Regions from separate parts of the Homo sapiens genome. Here region 1 is linked to region 2. The links are contacts of gene promoters, found by promoter capture Hi-C in human tissues and cell types (Jung and others, 2019). All regions are on one chromosome and are shown on one strand. The core of a region is centred on a gene start or on the middle of the fragment in contact, and the rest is flanking DNA. Distances in the headings are between cores, read along the strand shown.

The links. Contacts are between HindIII fragments. The study calls those that stand out against the background at their distance.
Region 1: the fragment with the promoter of LACRT here is called in contact with the fragment with the promoter of NCKAP1L in region 2 in 2 of the 25 tissues and cell types used here (mesendoderm cells and psoas muscle).

What each region holds. Positions count from the first base shown.
Region 1 is chr12:54,632,722-54,637,309 of GRCh38, reverse strand. LACRT (lacritin) reads left to right here and starts at 2,415. Exons shown (of 5, transcript NM_033277.2): 1 at 2,415-2,526; 2 at 4,077-4,130. The coding sequence starts at 2,469. The HindIII fragment of the contact is 5,914 bases long and covers 341-4,588 here.
Region 2 is chr12:54,495,755-54,500,255 of GRCh38, reverse strand. It overlaps NCKAP1L (NCK associated protein 1 like), which reads right to left and starts at 2,504. Exons shown (of 31, transcript NM_005337.5): 1 at 2,365-2,504; 2 at 791-901. The coding sequence starts at 2,466. RefSeq lists enhancers at 2,313-2,372, 2,483-2,542. The HindIII fragment of the contact is 19,249 bases long and covers 1-4,501 here.

The DNA of each region.
Region 1 (4,588 bases), core at 1,166-3,665, 140 kb before region 2:
CACTTTGCCATCTTCTATTTGTTAGGAGTGAATCTCGAGACCCAGCCCAGTTAAGCAGAGGAAATTACAGCAGGGCACCAATGCCAAGACGTAGGCATCACCAGGAGCTATCTCTGAAGTCGTCCTACCACACATGCCAAAGCAAGAGAGGGAGCAGGAGGAACAAATGCCTTAATCTCTCCCTTTTCCCACCCTCCCATCTCCCACCTGTGTCTCCCATTGGCCAAACTCAACTCGAAGCTAGAGGGCATGGGAGCCCAGGTGATACAGCCCATAGAGGCATCCTTCCAGACCAGTGCAGAGATGAGAGAGAATAAACCTGAGGCAGAGGGGAGAGAGGTACAACGAGCAGCCCATGAGACAAGACACAGATCAGCGAACTGACAGTCATCATGGAGGTCAGATAACCTAGAAAACAAGACATCACACAGAGCAGCCCCTCACCCATATCCATGAGGTCCGTCAAGACATTGCACAGAGCAGCCTCTCACCCATATCCATGAGGTCTGCCTCTTTAATCTATGCACCCAATTCTTTCCCAGGCTCTATAATTTGGGGTAACATTTCTCTGGGCCCTGTTATAGAATAATGAAAATTTTCTATAAAACAAATGTCCTTACTTTCACCTCATCCCTATTTATGTAAATGCTTGCCTCTTTAATTACTGAGGCCAGGAGGAAGATTTGGGAGAGGAAAGGGCTATGCGGTGACATTTGGAAAGACCCTGCTCTGTGACAGTTCTAGTGTTGACGCCAAAGTTCTCATTTCCTCTTAGAAAAGTCTTGTGCAAATAGCATAATTTGCTCCTGTTGACTTTTTTAATGTGCTCATGGAGACTGCTCGGGATCTAGATCTGTTTGGGATCTGCAGGACTTCTCCTTCTGCAGTGTACACACACGTGCACACACGTATGTGCACATACCCAGGGCACTGGTGCCATCAAAACTTTCTCTTGTTCTTCAGCCTTCCCCATTCCAGGTAAGGCCACCACCACCTTCAAGGCTCCCAGGCCCAGACCCTCAGGCAGGTAGCAATTGCCAAGGCTTTAATGTCCCACCCCATTAATTTTATCTTCCTTTATCTCCTGAAAAGATTAATGTTCTAAACCCTGGCACCCAAAACACCCTCATGTTGAAAACTCTTCAATACCCCCTTCTCACACTCATCTTCAGAGCTACCATGAGGCAGAGAAGCCTCCGGAATCAGCCCACATGGGGCTGGGTGAATGCCAACACCAAGCAAGGGGAAAGTCACAAATTGACATCCAGCACCTTATTCTCCACCCTTCAGCCCCTCAACTGACTCCTGCTCCACGGCCCGTTCTATTAATATCTAGCATTTAGCACCAGCCTGGACAAAAACCTACTTGGAAAGATGGTACAAGAACCCCACACAACTCCATAGAACTTCGCTGTCTAAAAAAATGCTTTGCCGTATATTATCCCACTTAATCTCCACCACTATGCTGTACATAGGAGCCACAACTCCTAGACAACAAATAAAAATCCTATCACTTTTCAAATCCTAACATTTTCATATGACAAAGCCAGAACTCAAAATCCAGACCTCTAGAGTCCCAGATCAGGAAAGGAAGAAACGCCAAGTCAAAGAGAAGCTTCTTTAGAATAATCTGCTTTTCTGGATTATTCACACCATGGGTCAGCTCCCCACTTGAAGTCAGAACCAAGCTCCAATTTCAGTGAACCACCATCATGCTTTGACCAGGAGATTCTCTCAGAAATGTGGGGTCCCATTGAGTAGGCCTGAAGACAGAGATTGACAGGCCTATGTGAGCCTGGAGGAGTTCTTTTTAGGGGCTGGATAATGTCAAGAACAGAGAACAACTCCAGAGAAGGCACACACGCCTTCAAACCCATCCCCTCATGGGGAGAAAGCAGCCAGGAACTCAGGCCTCAAGTGTTCTAGGTGTGGTCTCCCAAGGAAACGGGCTCACTTAGTTTGGGGAAACCTTCAAACCCTGCACTGAGTCCTATGTAGACTGGGACAGAAGGTGGACAATGTAATCCCCTGAGCCCTCAACCTCCTCCTGGAGAGATGACAAGATTAAGATTTCTCTACCAGAACCCTCAACAGACACATCCCAGAATCTCCCCAAGTGAAATGTGCTCTACCTACCGTCCCTGAGAGCCCAGGGGTGTGAACCCAGAGGGCAGGTGTGGTGGGGAAGGGAGGAGGGAGAAAGAAAAGGGATGGCTGGGAGTTAGAGAAAGGCTCCTATCCAGGACCTGCCTGCAAGGATCCCAGGTATCAGCCAGCCCAACCTAGCCCTTGTTGACTTAGCAGGTGACAGTTTGGGGAAGAAGGGGAGGAGGATGCGGAAGTCACACCTCTCCAGGCTTGGTTCCCATTGGCCCTTGATATCCTTAAAAGGGCCCAGCAATTTCAGCATCCTTATTCCCCAGACCTTCTGCAGATTCTGTGGTTATACTCACTCCTCATCCCAAAGAATGAAATTTACCACTCTCCTCTTCTTGGCAGCTGTAGCAGGGGCCCTGGTCTATGCTGGTGAGTATGGCCTTTCCTCTGCGCCCCACAAGAGTCCTCCCAGTCCAAGGAGCCCCTCACTCCTGCCTTCACCCCTCTCCTCCTCTCTCAGTGCTATTCTGGTTTCCCTGCCTCTGCAAGTGACTCCTCTCCCAGTTCTCCACACGTGGCCTCTGCACCCCACTGGCCAGAGGAACCCAGAACTCTCTGGCCTCTGCCTGCCCTCCCAGCTCATCTCCTCACACACCATTGTTTACCCACTATGCCTCAGCTACACTGGCTTCTCTGGTGTCCCCTGCATGTAGTTGAGCAGGGTGTCCCCTACACGAGGGTGCCCAGGCAAGGAGTGGTAGAAGCTAAAATCTGGCCGACACTCTACTTGCCAAGCAGTGAGCCTGGCCCCTGGCTGTGTCTCTTAGGAGGAAGGGATGCCTTTTTTTTTTTTTTTTTTTTGAGACCGAGTCTCCCTCTGTTGCCCAGGCTGGAGTGCAGTGGCACGATCTCTGCTCACTGCAACATCCACCTCCTGGGTTCCAGCGATTATCTTGCCTCAGCCTCCTGGGTAGCTGGGACTACAGGCTCATGCCACCTTGCCCAGCTAATTTTGTATTTTTAGTAGAGACGGTGTTTCACCATGTTGGCCAGGTTGGTCTCGAACTCCTGACCTCAGGTGATCCGACTGCCTTGGCCTCCCAAAGTGTTGGAATTACAGGCGTGAGCCACCGTGCCCTGCTGGGATGCCTTTTTTGATCCACAGAAGCACTATTTGGGCCATGATGATCCTGCTGTTCCTTGAACATCAGGATCTTCCTTCTTGTCCTTTCCTCGTCTAGAATGCTTTCCCTCTCCCTGGCCCCTTCCCCCAACCAACTCTAATGTCACCTGGCCAATGATTTTTCATCTAGAAAATCTCAGTTTACATATAATTCCCCAAAAAGGCCTTCCATGCACATGCGGAACAAATCAGATCCATGTGCCCTTCTCGCACCAGGCTGCACGTTCCCTTCCAGCACTGTCACACCAGCCATTAAATAATTTCGTAAAAGGACAGATGTAAGCTCTGTCAGGGCAGGGGTCTTGTCTGCCCTCTTCAGCACTGCACCTCCATCTCTTGGCACAGAGCTTTGCATAAATGTTGTGTTGAAAGAATAAAGGGAATCAAGGCTGGGGTCTCAATCCTGCAAATCGCTCAAATATGGCCCCATAACCCCCACATACTGTCCTCCTCCACCACAGAGGAGGTTGAGCCCCTCTGACCATGGCCAGCTCCATGACAGACACCTCAGGGAAGCCTACCAAGCCAGGGGCCAGTCAGGAGGAAGGCACTGTTCCAAGAGACATTACACTTCTCAGAGGGGAAGTTATTTCAAAAGCCACAGGAGTTAAACATCAGAGAGTGCCCCAGTAGACCCGCTGATATGGTGGAAGGGCATGTCCAACCCAAAGGGAAATTGATCCCCTTCTATCCATGAGCATTCCCAGGAGATAAGCTTTGGGAATGGGAGGGGAGGGTGGCTCGAGTAGGTCCGGTTCGGTCCTTGCTCTCATCTGGCATGTTTCCCCCATTGCAGAAGATGCCTCCTCTGACTCGACGGGTGCTGATCCTGCCCAGGAAGCTGGGACCTGTGAGTCCTCCTCTCCCTGCTGCCCTAGCCCTCGTTGGGAAGGTTTAACAGTTAGGGATGTGAGTGGTGGCTGGGAGAAGAAGCCAGTGGGAGGAGATCTGGATTCTGTGCTTGGTGGTAATGGGGAGGGGCAGGTAATATAATAAAGAAGGTGGCATGGGTTGAAATGGTACAAGGCTAAGGACAAAAGAGGATGACCCAGAGAGGCAAGGACAATAGGGAGCATGGGGAAAAGGTTATTGTGAATAAAAGGGAGAGAAACATGAGGTTAAGTGGTAAGGGCAATGTCTCACATGGCATTAATACCTTCACCTGCAAACACCTCCCATTACTCCCAATTCCTTAGCAAGATAACCATTATCTGGCCTCTAACCTCATTTTCCAACCCCATTTTCCATGACTCTCTTTTATGTCGCACCCACATCAGCTAAATTGAACTTGTTTCCATTCCCCACACA
Region 2 (4,501 bases), core at 1,255-3,754:
GCTACTCGAGAGGCTGAGTCAGAAGAATCACTTGAACCTGGGAAGCAGAGGTTGCAGTGAGCCAAGATTGTGCTACTGCACTCCAGCCTGGGTGACAGAGCAAGACTCCATCTCAAAAAAAAAAAAAAAGAAAAGAAAAGAAAAAGAAAGAGAGTTGAAATATACTGACAGAGGAAGTTAGAAACGCTTCAGTGCTCTGAAGGTCTTTAAACAAAGGAGATTGTCTATCTAGGTAGAATGGTTGCATGTGATCCTGACTAGATACAGAGGGCTAAATGAGAGGAAATTTTAAGCACCCTTTCAGATGAACAGATATACTATTTATATCAAAGTCAAAAGAAACAGAATTCAAAGATGCTACAAAGATGGGTGAAAAATCTAGGGTTAACATTTAATAAGGGAAAAGTAGAGATATCCCATTAGATGCAGAAATCTAAGACAAACAGCAAGGAAACAGTGAGTGGGAAACAGAAACAATAAAATACATGTACCCTGCTGGGTTGATAGAGCTGTCTTGTACAAAAACAATGTTTTCCCATGAATCTTGCAATGGAAAAGGGGTGATGATTCGCTCCAGCTTATGCTGGAAGAATCCCATCTTATCTCAAAATGCTCAAGACTTAAAGCTCTACAACAACCTGAAGCCCTGTGGTTGAGCCTTGGAAAACTATTAATAAAAAAAGACTACTCCATCCCCTGCCAAGTTTGAAGAGAGGCATCAAAAGAGGAGAATTTCAGCCATTCAAGCAGAGAATTATTCAGAGAAAGGAGAGAAGGACCAAGTTCTCACCGTGCTGTTTCGGACATCTATGTTGGGAAATTTCTTGTTGATATACTTGAGAGATGGTTCCATGGACTTTTCCAGTAAGAAAGGTGGCTTAGATTTGGGGTCTGAACAAGTCTGCAGAGAGAAACCATATATATTTCAACCCTTTCTCCTCCTCCTCAGAAACATACCTCTTCTTGCAACATTCATTCTCATAATCTGTCTTAGGAAAAGGCAACCTGGGAACTAATTTAAAAAGCATGAGAGGCTGGGCGCAGCGGCTCACACCTGTAATCCCAGCACTTCGGGAGGCCGAGGCAGGCAGATCACAAGGTCAGAAGTTCGAGACCAGCCTGGCCAACATGGTGAAACCCCGTCTCTACTAAAAATACAAAAATTAGCTGGGCATGGTGGTGCACAACTGTAGTCCCAGGTACTTGGGAGGCTGAGGCAGGAGAATCGCTTGAACCCGGGAGGCGGAGGTTGCAGTGAGCCAAGATCGTGCCACTGCACTCCAGCCTGGGCGACAGAGCGAGACTCCGAAAATAAATAAATAAATAAATAAATAAATAAATATAAAAATAAAAAGCATAAGAGTAGGTCAAGAAAAAATTCCAAGACATTAAGCCAAGTATCTAAGAGCGAAATAACAACCTAGGCATTTTGTCTTGATGGGTAGAGTTTAATGCCTGCTTGGCCCCAGCACAAAGAGGAAGCTGTTTCCCCGCCCCTCAACTGAAGCCGGAAGGAACAAGAAAAGCAGCTGCTCAGGAGTTAGACTTTGTACAAGATTCAGTGTCACAATTTTGTTCACTATGTAAGTATCTTATCCCAAAGGGCATTTACAGGATTCATGGTGACAGAGAAACCGTGTTCCTGGTGATTTGTTTTATTACAAAAAACACAAAAGCTCCCTCCCCCAAAGTCCCCTATTTTCTATGCCAGGAACTCCCCATAAACACCCCTGTCTTTATCTCTTTACTTCCTATGGTTTGCCCAGCCCCTAGCCCACCTCTTGTCACTAGCTTCTTTCAATTCCTCAGTTCCTATTCTAAACACACACACACACACACACACACACACACACACAACCACCACAGCATGAACTACCCCAGGAGCAGCTCAGAAGACACCTACCCTTTTTAATCTAAATACCTAATTATCTATTTTTTTTCCTTTTAGGGAAGCACTTCCACAGAAAAGTTTTTGCCAGAGACCCAGCTTCAGATCTCTTCAGAGTGTAGAGGATCAACAATAAATAATAAAACCCAGAAGGTTGGACCCCAGACCTTTATCCAAGTCACTTGGAATACCACTGTTGTTTCCCCATCCCCACCCTCACCCCCATCCCCAGAGGAAAGCAGATGCCATCGTTGGGGCAAGAATCATATCTAGAAAGGGGAAGCCTTGAAAAGAAGCCTCCACTTCTGCCTTCCTGAACTGGCTGGCCTGTATAATCTGAGTGATTATGTAGATTATAGTCAGTGGAAAAGCAGTGGAAAAAAAGGTGGGAGTCTAACTGCTGCACCTGCCGCCTCAGGGTTCCCTGCCCTATTATTGTTGGAATAATCAGTACTAGTCCCATTGTTCATGCTTACCTTCTTGATGTTATACATACGGATGAGAACCCCCTGACCGCGATCATTCAGGATAGTGAGCTTCTCTGCTAATTTATGCTGGTAAGCAGATGTCAAAGACATGATGGCCACTGAGAGAGGAGCACCAGACAGCAATGTCTGATCTCCCCAAACACTTTCAGCTTAGATGGTGACACCCTCTGGCGGAGGGACCCAGCCTGGTTGGTGCACTGGTCTTCTGTTGCCTCTGCAATTGGCTCATGGGTGAAATCAGTCATTATGGCTCACAGGCCCTCAGAGCCTTCTTGTGCTTCCTCTTGCACACTCAGCAGGGGAGACTTCCTCTTTCTGGCTGTGCAGCACTTTTGGTAAGGCTATGAAGTGGGTGGAGCTGAGGAGAAGGACAGGCTTTCAAGGCTCTTCACAGACTGCACCAACCTTTTTGGTCTTATGCCCCCATAAGTGTCCTAGACAAAGCTGGGCGTGGTGGCTCACACCTGTAATCCCAGCACTTTGGGAGGAAAAGGTGGGAAGATCCATTGAGCTCAGGAGTTCCAGACCAGCCTGGGCAACATAGCAAGACCCCATCTCTATAAAAAATAAAAATTAAAAGCTGTAAGCTAGATAAACAAGTATCTACCACCCCACCCCTGTACACCTCTATATTTTCCTTCTTTTATATCCAAGAATGCCTATGAACCTTTGGCCTCATCATGTTTTAGTACCCAGATCAAATCCCATCTTCTCCTAAAGACCCCATCAATGTCAAATATTATATTGTATTATATTTTATATTGTCAAATACATATATTCCTTGTTATATGTTTATAGTGTACGTTGTATCTCCCCCAACTACAGCATAAGCTCCTTAATGACAGGAATTGTACCTAATACTTTTTTTTCTTTTTTTTTTTTTTTTTGAAACAGAGTTCCACTCTTGTTGCCCAGGCTGGAGTGCAATGGCATGATCTCTGCTCACTACAACCTCCACCTCCTGGGCTCAAGCAATTCTCCAGCCTCAGCCTCTGGAGTAGCTGTGGTTACAGGTGCCCACCACCACGCCTTGCTAATTTTTGTATTTTTAGTAGACATGGGGTTTCACCGTGTTGGCCAGGCTGCTCTCGAACTCCTGACCTCAGGTGATTTACCCGCCACAGCCTCCCAAAGTACTGGAATTACAGGCATGAGCCACCACACCCGGCCTCTAATACTTTTTTATATTTCTCACAATGCTCTACTACAGTGCATTGTACTTCTACAGTACATAATAATTCTCAAAGTAGTTCTCAAGAAGTACATAGTAATTCTCAAAATGTGATCCAGCAGCATCAGCATCACCTGGAAACTTGTTAGAGATGCAAATTCTTAGGACCCGCCCCAGACCACTGAATCCAAAATTCTGGGGTGGGTCCAGGCACTCTGTGTTTTAACAAACCCTCCAGGTGATTCCAATGCACACTCAAGTTTGAGAACCAGTGCTCTAGTACCATGGTATTTATGGATGCTTGAGAAACAGATCAATCCCTGTCCTCTGAGATTAGCATTGGTAGGTAGGCGAGTCTGTTGTGGGGCCTAGAAGTCTGTACTTATATAAGCACTGTTGTAGGAGGTTTTGGTACAAATATTCCATTCTGAAAAACACTGATCTAGAACAATACCTCTTGGACACAGTAGTCACTCAATAAATATGCTGGTTTATTTGTTGAATTATTAAGACTAAATTAGGAAATAGGCCCCATGAAGAAGAACCAAATTAATCAAGATTAAAAAGAGGAAATTAGTAATCACCCTTAAATCTTAGAGACTTGAATGAATTTTAGCATTAAAATATTCTTGCCATTCCAATGAGGCCTTAACTCCGTAACTCAAGAAAATTTTCAACTCTATTTCAACTTTCTTTCAAGACACAAAGCAAAAGGTCCTAGGAAAAATTATAAATCAAAAAGAGTTCTCTTCATTTCCACCACCTTGCCAATTCCTTTTCTCAGGTTTTTAATCATTCCCATTTTCCGTATCCAGAGTTCCCATTGTCCCAATAAATTCTAGGGAGTGGGAGAAGAGAGACAAGGCTGATCAGCATTATTACTTAAGAAGTTGGGGCCAGGTGAAGTGGCTCATGCTTATAATCCCAGCACTTTGGGAGGCAAAGGTAGAAGGA